2 separate regions of the Homo sapiens genome follow, and region 2 is linked to region 1. Evidence: promoter capture Hi-C in human tissues and cell types (Jung and others, 2019). All regions are on one chromosome and are shown on one strand. The core of a region is centred on a gene start or on the middle of the fragment in contact, and the rest is flanking DNA. Distances in the headings are between cores, read along the strand shown. Region 1 holds the start of POLD1 (DNA polymerase delta 1, catalytic subunit). Region 2 overlaps LRRC4B (leucine rich repeat containing 4B).

The links. Contacts are between HindIII fragments. The study calls those that stand out against the background at their distance.
Region 2: a contact is called between a fragment that was not itself captured here and the fragment with the promoter of POLD1 in region 1, in 1 of the 25 tissues and cell types used here (dorsolateral prefrontal cortex).

What each region holds. Positions count from the first base shown.
Region 1 is chr19:50,381,395-50,385,920 of GRCh38, forward strand. It overlaps POLD1 (DNA polymerase delta 1, catalytic subunit), which reads left to right and starts at 2,953. Exons shown (of 27, transcript NM_002691.4): 1 at 2,953-2,996. NR1H2 (nuclear receptor subfamily 1 group H member 2) reads left to right here. Exons shown (of 10, transcript NM_007121.7): 9 at 572-780; 10 at 1,062-1,994. The coding sequence ends at 1,208. RefSeq lists silencers at 2,617-2,716, 2,727-2,846, 2,877-2,966 and an enhancer at 3,686-4,187. The HindIII fragment of the contact is 20,023 bases long and covers 1-4,526 here.
Region 2 is chr19:50,547,044-50,551,379 of GRCh38, forward strand. It overlaps LRRC4B (leucine rich repeat containing 4B), which reads right to left. Exons shown (of 3, transcript NM_001080457.2): 2 at 1,499-1,830. The coding sequence starts at 1,795. Among named protein-coding and RNA genes, the nearest start is that of LRRC4B, 19 kb to the right of the region's middle. The HindIII fragment of the contact is 9,422 bases long and covers 1-4,336 here.

The DNA.
Region 1 (4,526 bases), core at 1,703-4,202:
CTTCTCTGCACTGCCTGGTTCCATTGAACTCACAGCCCTCTGACAGGCTGGGCCTCTTCCTAATGTGTTTGTCTATGACCGGTCCCCTAGGCTCTCAAATGTAAGTGCTGGAGCCTGGCACGTGGCAGGTACTCAGTGACATTTGATGACTGAATGAACAAGTCAGTTTTGGGAATGAGTTTGGGCTTTACCTTGAGCAGTGGAAGCCAGCGCTGGGACCAGCACGATGTGACCTAGGTTTTAAAAGCTTCCCTTTGCCTTTGTGAAGGGGACAAGAATAGGGACTCGGGAAGCTGCAGCCACCGCCCAGGTGGGAAGGGAGGGTGGTGATAGGATAGTAGAAAATACTGAAGAAACATGCACCCTCATTCATTCCTTCACTGGGCAGCATGTGTGGCACACCTACTACATGCCAGCACTCATGGGCACGGGGCACAGGTGGACAGAAATGACAAGAACGCTGTAATTACTGCTGTGTTCCCAGCCCCAGAGACTGTGGGCAGCGCCAGGGTCCAGGATGTGGGGCACGGTTTCGGGCTGAGGGAGTCACGGGCTGCCTCCCGCCCCGCAGGCCTGCAGGTGGAGTTCATCAACCCCATCTTCGAGTTCTCGCGGGCCATGCGGCGGCTGGGCCTGGACGACGCTGAGTACGCCCTGCTCATCGCCATCAACATCTTCTCGGCCGACCGGCCCAACGTGCAGGAGCCGGGCCGCGTGGAGGCGTTGCAGCAGCCCTACGTGGAGGCGCTGCTGTCCTACACGCGCATCAAGAGGCCGCAGGTAGGGCCCCGCAGAGCCTCTGCGCAGAGCCAACTACGTCCCGCGGCCCACGTGGTCCGTTCAGGCTGGGTTCTGCCAGCCACACTGCCCTCCCCTCCGCAGAGTCTTTCCTCAGGCCCCACCCTGCTCGACTGGGAGCCAGGTCTAGTCCAAGCACAGAGGCGGGCCCCACGCTGGCTCCCACGCCTGGTCGGGGAGGGGCCCTCCTTTCTGTTGGGGTGGGCCTCCCAAAGCCTGGCAGGGCAGGGGCTCAGCCAGCGCCCACCTGCCTCCTCCCTCAGGACCAGCTGCGCTTCCCGCGCATGCTCATGAAGCTGGTGAGCCTGCGCACGCTGAGCTCTGTGCACTCGGAGCAGGTCTTCGCCTTGCGGCTCCAGGACAAGAAGCTGCCGCCTCTGCTGTCGGAGATCTGGGACGTCCACGAGTGAGGGGCTGGCCACCCAGCCCCACAGCCTTGCCTGACCACCCTCCAGCAGATAGACGCCGGCACCCCTTCCTCTTCCTAGGGTGGAAGGGGCCCTGGGCCGAGCCTGTAGACCTATCGGCTCTCATCCCTTGGGATAAGCCCCAGTCCAGGTCCAGGAGGCTCCCTCCCTGCCCAGCGAGTCTTCCAGAAGGGGTGAAAGGGTTGCAGGTCCCGACCACTGACCCTTCCCGGCTGCCCTCCCTCCCCAGCTTACACCTCAAGCCCAGCACGCAGTGCACCTTGAACAGAGGGAGGGGAGGACCCATGGCTCTCCCCCCTAGCCCGGGAGACCAGGGCCTTCCTCTTCCTCTGCTTTTATTTAATAAAAACTAAAAACAGAAACAGGAAAATAAAATATGAATACAATCCAGCCCGGAGCTGGAGTGCAAGATGGAGAGGGCGCGGGCTTCTAGGGACCTCAGTGACACTGGGTGCCCGAACCTGATTGAGCAGGTGGGACTGGGTGTCCCCAGGCTGTTGGGAAAAGGGTGGCACATAGGGTCCCAGTGTTGGGTGGTGTGTCGCCTGCTGTGAAAGTTCAGGACAGAGGCCTCAGCCTCAGGGTCACCTCCCTGGACAAGGTGAATCAGAACTCACCCTTGAAGGATAAACAGGATTTAAGTGAATGAGGGGACCTGGACTTCTGTCCGAACAACAAGTGTTTGCTGAGGCCTCCTGTGGGCCAGGCACTGGGTTGGCCATTCTAGAGATGGAGACATTCACCCAATAAATGTTTCCAGAGCATTAACTACAGTTAGGCACAATTCTAGGCACTGGAAACATCTGTGAACAAGATAACCATCCTCCTACCAAGACTCGGGGGATAGGGACTTTAATGAGCGTGGCACTGTGGTGGGGCTAGAGGAAATCAGGGAAGGTATCACAACAGAGGCAATCGCTGGGACCTAAAACAAGAGCCTGGGGGCTGGGCCTCCAAGTTGAGGGAACAGCACGTGCAAAGTTTGAAAGGAGAGACGCCAGGAGTTCGGAGCGAAGCGACGAAGTTCCTCCAATCCTTCCTGCCCCTGTGCCAGCCCTGAAGGAGCTGAATGAGCAATTCCAATCGAGGGCGAAAGGGGGGTTGGATGGAGGGATGCAACTTAAAGGTGTATTTATTTGGGGCGGGGAACAGCGGAAGTGAGAGTAGTTACCAATGATCACCTTATCCTAAGAGTAGTGTACCGGGCGCCCCACAAGTGTCCCTATCATGCGTTGTTGAGTCTAATTTACGTATAGGGAAACTGAAGCTAGGATGAAGGAGAACAGATCAAGCCAGGACTCTACCGCTTATCGGCCAGCCTCTGCGGGGATCTTGGGCGTCAGGTCACCAGCTGGCTGCTGGGCAGCGACGGGGCAGCGCTCCCTACACGGCCCCGGGCGAGAGGCGGGCGGGGGGACGCGGAGGATGCGCGCGCAACACCCGAGGGTGGGAGGAGAGAGAACAGAACCGCGGCGCGCCCAGACCGCACGAGGTCGTGAAGGTAGCCGCGCGGAGGGGCGTGGCTTCGGGCAGACAGGTCATGGGGAGGCGGAGTTAAGGGAATTTTTCAGCAAGGGGGCGAGGCCACTTCGGAAGCTGAGAGAGGGGGCGGGGCCTGCCCTGCAGTCGAACAAGCGGGGCGTGGCCTTGCCCGCACTTGGGCAGGCGGGGGCGTGGCCCGTCTCTGAGCGCCGCGGCTCTGGGCTTGCGCGCGCGGGAGTCAGGGGTCACGGCGGCGTAGGCTGTGGCGGGAAACGCTGTTTGAAGCGGGTGAGTAGAGGGGAAAAAGGGAGTTCGGGGCAGTGGGCCTGGTAGGGAACGGGGCTTGAGCAGCCAGGCACATAGATCTGAGAGACGGTTGCGAGGGCACCCTTTGGCCCGGGGGCGCGCAGGAGAGGGCAGGGGCCAGGGGTTTCCTGGGCGAGGGCGCGGGGACGAGCAGGAAAAGGCCGGGGTGGGGGTGGAATTCCTCGGCGGGCAGGGGGCGCATGCGCCGGGCACCGTGGGGCGGGACGTGGCCCGGGAGGAGCTGGGGGGACTGGGTGGTGCACGTGCGGGCTTGGTGTCATCCTGGATTCGCTGGGTGTTTGAGTACTCTGTGCCAGGCACTTTTCTGGAAGCAGGAACAAGTCAGAGAAGTCCCTGTCTCGGGAAGACAGACGGTAGACAAGTGATGAGTTTTAATAGATCAGTAAAGCAGTGCTCTGGGGCTGTGAGATGCTCTCAGAAGGAAACTAACGCAGGGTAACGTGATAATGAGCGAAGAGCCTGTTGCTTTAGCTGGAGTGGTCCAGAATCGACCGCTCTGGGACCCTCAAGTGCAAAGCCCTGAGGTGGAAGGAGCTTGGCGTATTTGTAGCAGGAGCCGAGGGGACGAGAGAAACACAGATGAGGTCGGAGTCATGATGGGGAACTAGATCCTATAGGGCCTTGTAAAACTTGGTATGGAATTTCTCCTTTATTCTAGGTTCAGCGGGGAGCCGTGGGAGGGTTTGAGCGTGGAAACAACACGATTCGCCCCATGTTTTGAAAAACTCACCACTGAGTGGAAATTGGATTGTAGCAGGAATAAGAATGGAAGGAGGGAGATCTGTTAGGAGGGAGAGCGTCCTGCAGGCAGAGAATCAGGCTCCGGTTACCTTTGCGGGCGGAGACAGGGGGACTGGCTGATGGACTGGGCGTAGGAGCAAGGGGAAGAGTCCAGGATGACTCCTGGGTTTGTGGTTTGAGCAGCAGGCTGGATGGGGAAGGCTAAGGGAGAAGCAGGTTGGGGTTGCCGCTCTGAAGGCAAAGATTAGTGGGGGAGTGAGTGGGCAGGGTTTAGAGCGGAGCCAGGAGTGGGCAGGGCGATGTCAGTGCCTCGCCTCAGCCCTTCCACTGAAGGAACTTGTTGCCACTGTCTTCTCTTTTTTTTTTTTTTTTTTTTGAGACAGAGTCTTGCTCTGTCACCCAGGCTGGAATGCAGTGGTGCAAACTCAGCTCATTGCAACCTCCGCCTCCCGAGTTCAGGCGAGTCTCGTGCCTCAGCCTCCTGAGTAGCTGGGATTACGGCACCCACTGCCATGCCCAGCTCATTTTTTGTATTTTTAGTAGAGATGGGGTTTCGCCGTGTTGGCCAGGCTGGTCTCGAACTCCTGACCTCAGGTGATCCACTTGCCTCGGCCTCCCAAAGTGCTGGGATTACAGGCGTGAGCCACCACGCACGGCCGCTTCTCCTCCTTCCTGCACTTCCCCCCCACAGGTCTCTCTTCCCCCTAGAGAGGTTCCTTCCCTCCCCCTGAAATGCTCTTCCCTCTCTTA
Region 2 (4,336 bases), core at 735-3,234, 160 kb after region 1:
GAAGGATGGAGTGCAGGGAAGCCGGGGGCAGGTGCATGGGGACCGCACAGTGCGGAATGTCACCTGCTCAAGGGAGATGTGGATGGATCGGTGGAGACTGCAACTAGGGAGATGCAGGGCAGACTCAAAGCAAACTGGCAGACATGGGAGCCTGTGGGAGGTGGGCGTGGACAGAGGGACAAGGCCCTGCGGGAGCGGGGGGTGGTGATGTGACGACGCCCCTGACGTTTCTGGACCCCTTCGCTGGCCCTTGCCCCACAGCCACCAGGAAGGGACTGCTCCCCTGAGAGGTCCCTTTTCTTCCCTGAATCTGGCTCTCAGGATGGTCAGATGGGAGCAGCCAAGTCCTCCCACCCTTTCCCAGGGACAGACCAGGCAGAAAAGCAGCCGCATTTCTTACGGGAGCTGTTACATCTGGAAGATTAGATCTGGAGGGGCTGGGACCTCTGGCATCGGCACCCTCTTCTCTCCCAGCTTTACAGGCTGGAACAGGAGGAGGCTTGCTTGGAGGCAGGAGTTGGACCAAATCAGCCTGGGGTAATGATCCCCTGGGAATCACTGGCAATGCCTGGAGATATTTTTGGAACTGGGGGTGGGGTGCTACTGGCATCTAGTGGCCGGAAATGCTGGTAAACATCCTACAGCACACAGGACAGAGCCCCCCACCCTGCCCGCCAAAGGATGATAGGGCAGGCCCCAAATGTCAATAGGGCAGAGGTTGAGAAGCCCTGCTTTCTAATAGCACAGCTCTGTCCCCCCAAGCCCTCGCTTACGGCCTATCCTAATCAGAGTCATCATTAATTGAGTGGCAGCTGCCCCATCCTGAGCACCAGCCACAGGCCACCATGGCGCCAAGCACCACAGCGTTCTCAGCCTCTCTGCTCTCCAATTCTCACACCAGCTCCAGGAAATGGGGACGCAAACCCTGCACTGCCCGGCAAATGACCATGGAAACGCCTCCTGTCCTCTGACCACTCGCCAGGTGCCAGCACACAAGCTAACGCCCCAATAAGTACCAGACCCATCAGCCCTCACAGCAACACCTCAACGCAGGGGCTTGCATTGTCCCCGCTTTTCAGATGAAGAAACTGAGGCTCAGAATCATGCCGTCACCTTCCCAAGGCCACGAGAGGGTGTGGTGGTGCAGATGCCACAGGGGTCCCTGTGAAAGGGTTGCTCTCCACACCCCAGGGACTCCAGGGCTCGGCCTAGGCCGACCCGCCTGTCCTGTGCCGGGGGGGCTGGGCAGGTGGCCTGCACTTGGGCCCCGACACGGTGGCTCAGAGACAGGGAGCACTGTGCTCTCAAAGCCCGGAGGGCCTCCACTCCACCTCGGGAGCCCGGCTCCAGCTGATAGGATGCAGACCCGCAGGCCACATCCACAGGTGCCGGAGACGGGGAAGCCCCGGTGTGGGGAGGCCCAGAAGGGATGGGCTACATCTGCATGCCTCCCCAGTGTCCCCTCCAAGGTCCCCCTCTGCCCGCTGGCCCCGCATACCTGGATGCCGTTCTCTTGCAGGTTCAGGTACCGCGTGTTGACCGGGATGCTGGCTGGGACCTCGGCCAGGTCTCTCCGTGTGCAGATCACCCGGCTGGCCTGGTTGCTGCAGGAGCAGGCCACGGGGCAGGAGGTGGCCGGCGGGGAGCCCCCTCCGGCGGCAGACGTCACGGCCACTCCACCTCCACCGGCCCCCAGGGGTGGGGAGAAGAGCCAGAGGAAGAGCAATGCCCCGTGGGGCCAGGACATCCTACCGGGCGGCAGCGGGGGGCACGGGGAGCCGCGGGCACGCGCCATCCTCAATGTTCATGCTCCGCGTGGACGCTGGGGGGCTGTGGGTGGGGGAGAGAAGGGGGAGAGGCTTGGTGAGGGACAGGAGCCCATGTGGCCTGGGTGCTTGCCAACACCCAGGCAGCCCCATCGCCGCCTCCCTGCCCCATGCCCAGAACAAAGGGACAGGGAGGGAGACAGCTGCCGATGGACCCACCCAGCAGGCTGGGGCAGGCAGAGGGAAGCTTGGCCCGCCTGGCCCTGCACTAGCTCATCCTCTCCATGCTGGCAAGATTCTACGCCCATTCTGCAGCAGGGAAAACTGAGGCTGGGGGAGAGGAAGTGCCTGCCCAAGGTCACTCATCCAGTAAGTGCAGAAGTTGTCCAGATTCAAAACCCAGTTCTTTGCATGACTTCAAAAAGGTAGATACATCAGAGGAGTGAGACAGACAGACAGACAGACAAGGCGAGGGGGCAGAAACGGGGAAGAGCAAGCGAGGTGGCGAGGACCTCGCTCCCATCCCAACACCCGCCCGGTCCCCTTGCCACCTGCGTGATCACCTGGGAGGTGGGTCCCAGCCTCCTCTCCCCTCCACTCCCTCCCCCTCTCCCCATCCCAGGGATGTTAGCGAAGAGATGCATTTCCCCCACCCCCTGTGCCCTCAGCTAAACCGAAAGACCCTCCGCTGCACACCCTCCTGTCACTGCCCACCCTGTCCAGGCCCTGTGGGGGCCTCACAGCAGCTTCAGAGACTTGAGTCAGACTCATGGGAGAATCTGAGGGAGAGAGAGGTAAGGTGGCAGACAAGGCAACCGTGGAGGTGACAGGTGTGGGCAGGTGAAGGGAGGGCTGGGAGGCAGCAGGGTGAAGAGGGAGGAGACTGGAGCTTGTGTGTGAGGGTGGCTGGGGACCTGACGGGGGGCGGCACAGGCCGAGAGGCCACCAGCTGCACCCCCTCCTTTGCCCCGAGACTGTGGGTGCTCCAGGCAGAGACAGCCCCGATGGGACTCATGCCAGCTGCTGCCGCAGGACCGAGCTTGGTTCTCGGGGAGGGGATGGGGAAGGGAAGGGGGTCCAGGGACTCTGCCTGGGTTCTGGGAGGAAAGCAGACAGCGGGGACTCGGGCCCTCTGAGAAGTCACGCTGTACCTCCCCAATCTGTCCTGCCCCGCCATTTCCATGGAACCAGAGAGGGAAAGGGGATGGGTGAGTCACAGCAACGATACCAGTAACAATAGTCTCTCCGGAACACTGGGTGAGCCCTTGCAATGCAGCAAACTGTATCCCGGTCATCTCATGTGAGCCTCATAATGACCATAGGAGAAAGCTATTAGGATGCCCAATTTACAGATGGGGACACTGAGGCACTATGAGGGAAAACGGCCTGTCCAAGGGCACAGAGCAGGCCGGGAGGGCGCAGAGGGGGTACTTCGGCCCTGGGTCTACCCTCTGGCTCCCAGCTCTCCTTTGCACGCAGCATCTCTGAGTACACACAAATACACCCACACCAGCAGGCCCTGCCCCAACACAGGCCAACCCCAAACCATTCCCAAGAGACCAGGAGGAGGGCAGGTCACACAAACACGCACACCGACCCACTCACACACTCAGCAGTGATGGGGCACACCCTCTCACGGTGGACTCTCAGGACCCCCCTCTCACGGTGGACTCTCAGGACCCCCGACACAGGCTCACCCCCAGGCACACGGCTATGCACACACACAGTCACTCCCTCCTCCTGCAGTTTCCAAGACCATTTTAACCCAGATAAAAATGTGTGTGCATACGTCTGTGTATCTGAGTGCATGTGTGAGAGCGAGGGCTAGACAGAGACACAGAGAGACAGAGACAGAAGCAGAGGCAGAGAGACAGAGGGCAGGGGAAAGAGGGAGCTGGGGAGAGAAAGAGAGAGAGGTTGATTCTGTGTCCACCCGGGCTCATTTTTCTCCTGCAGGGCTGGGGCCGTGTGTCTGTGTCTGACTATGTGAGTGCGGTGAGGGTCTTCATTTTCCTGAATGTGAACAGGGAGGTCAATGCCCAGTCCTTATCCTGGGTCAGGGGCTCCTACCTCTTAAGACCCTGGCGATGATCCAGCCCACACCCTCTTAGCCAAAGGGCTGGCCCAAAGCGCAGGGCCTGGATTTGAGGCCGGGGGACCCCGCAGGGCCTGTGGGAGCCCACGGCACCCACCCCGGCCTCCAGGCCTGCCGCTGCCATGTCTACCTCCGCATCTGTCCCCAGCTCTCCCGCTGCCAGCCCGCATCCCCCCACCCCCATCACGGCTTCTGCAGCGACTCGGCCTCCCTCCCCTTCCCCCCGCCGCCCTCCGCCATCTCCCATCCTTTTCTCCCCACAACCCCACGGTGGGGGACACTCACCCTGGTGGCTTGGCTTCCGCTGGGCCTCTCCCTGCGCCCAGGCCCCCCCCTCCACATGCCTCCGGCCAGCCGGGGTCTCTGCCTCCCCAGTTCTCCAGGGCTTCCTGTCGAGATCGTGCTGGGGGGGGCGCAGGGGCTTCTTGGGTCTCCCCGCGCCCCCCCCACTGGCCTGTCGCCCTTCCCACCCCTG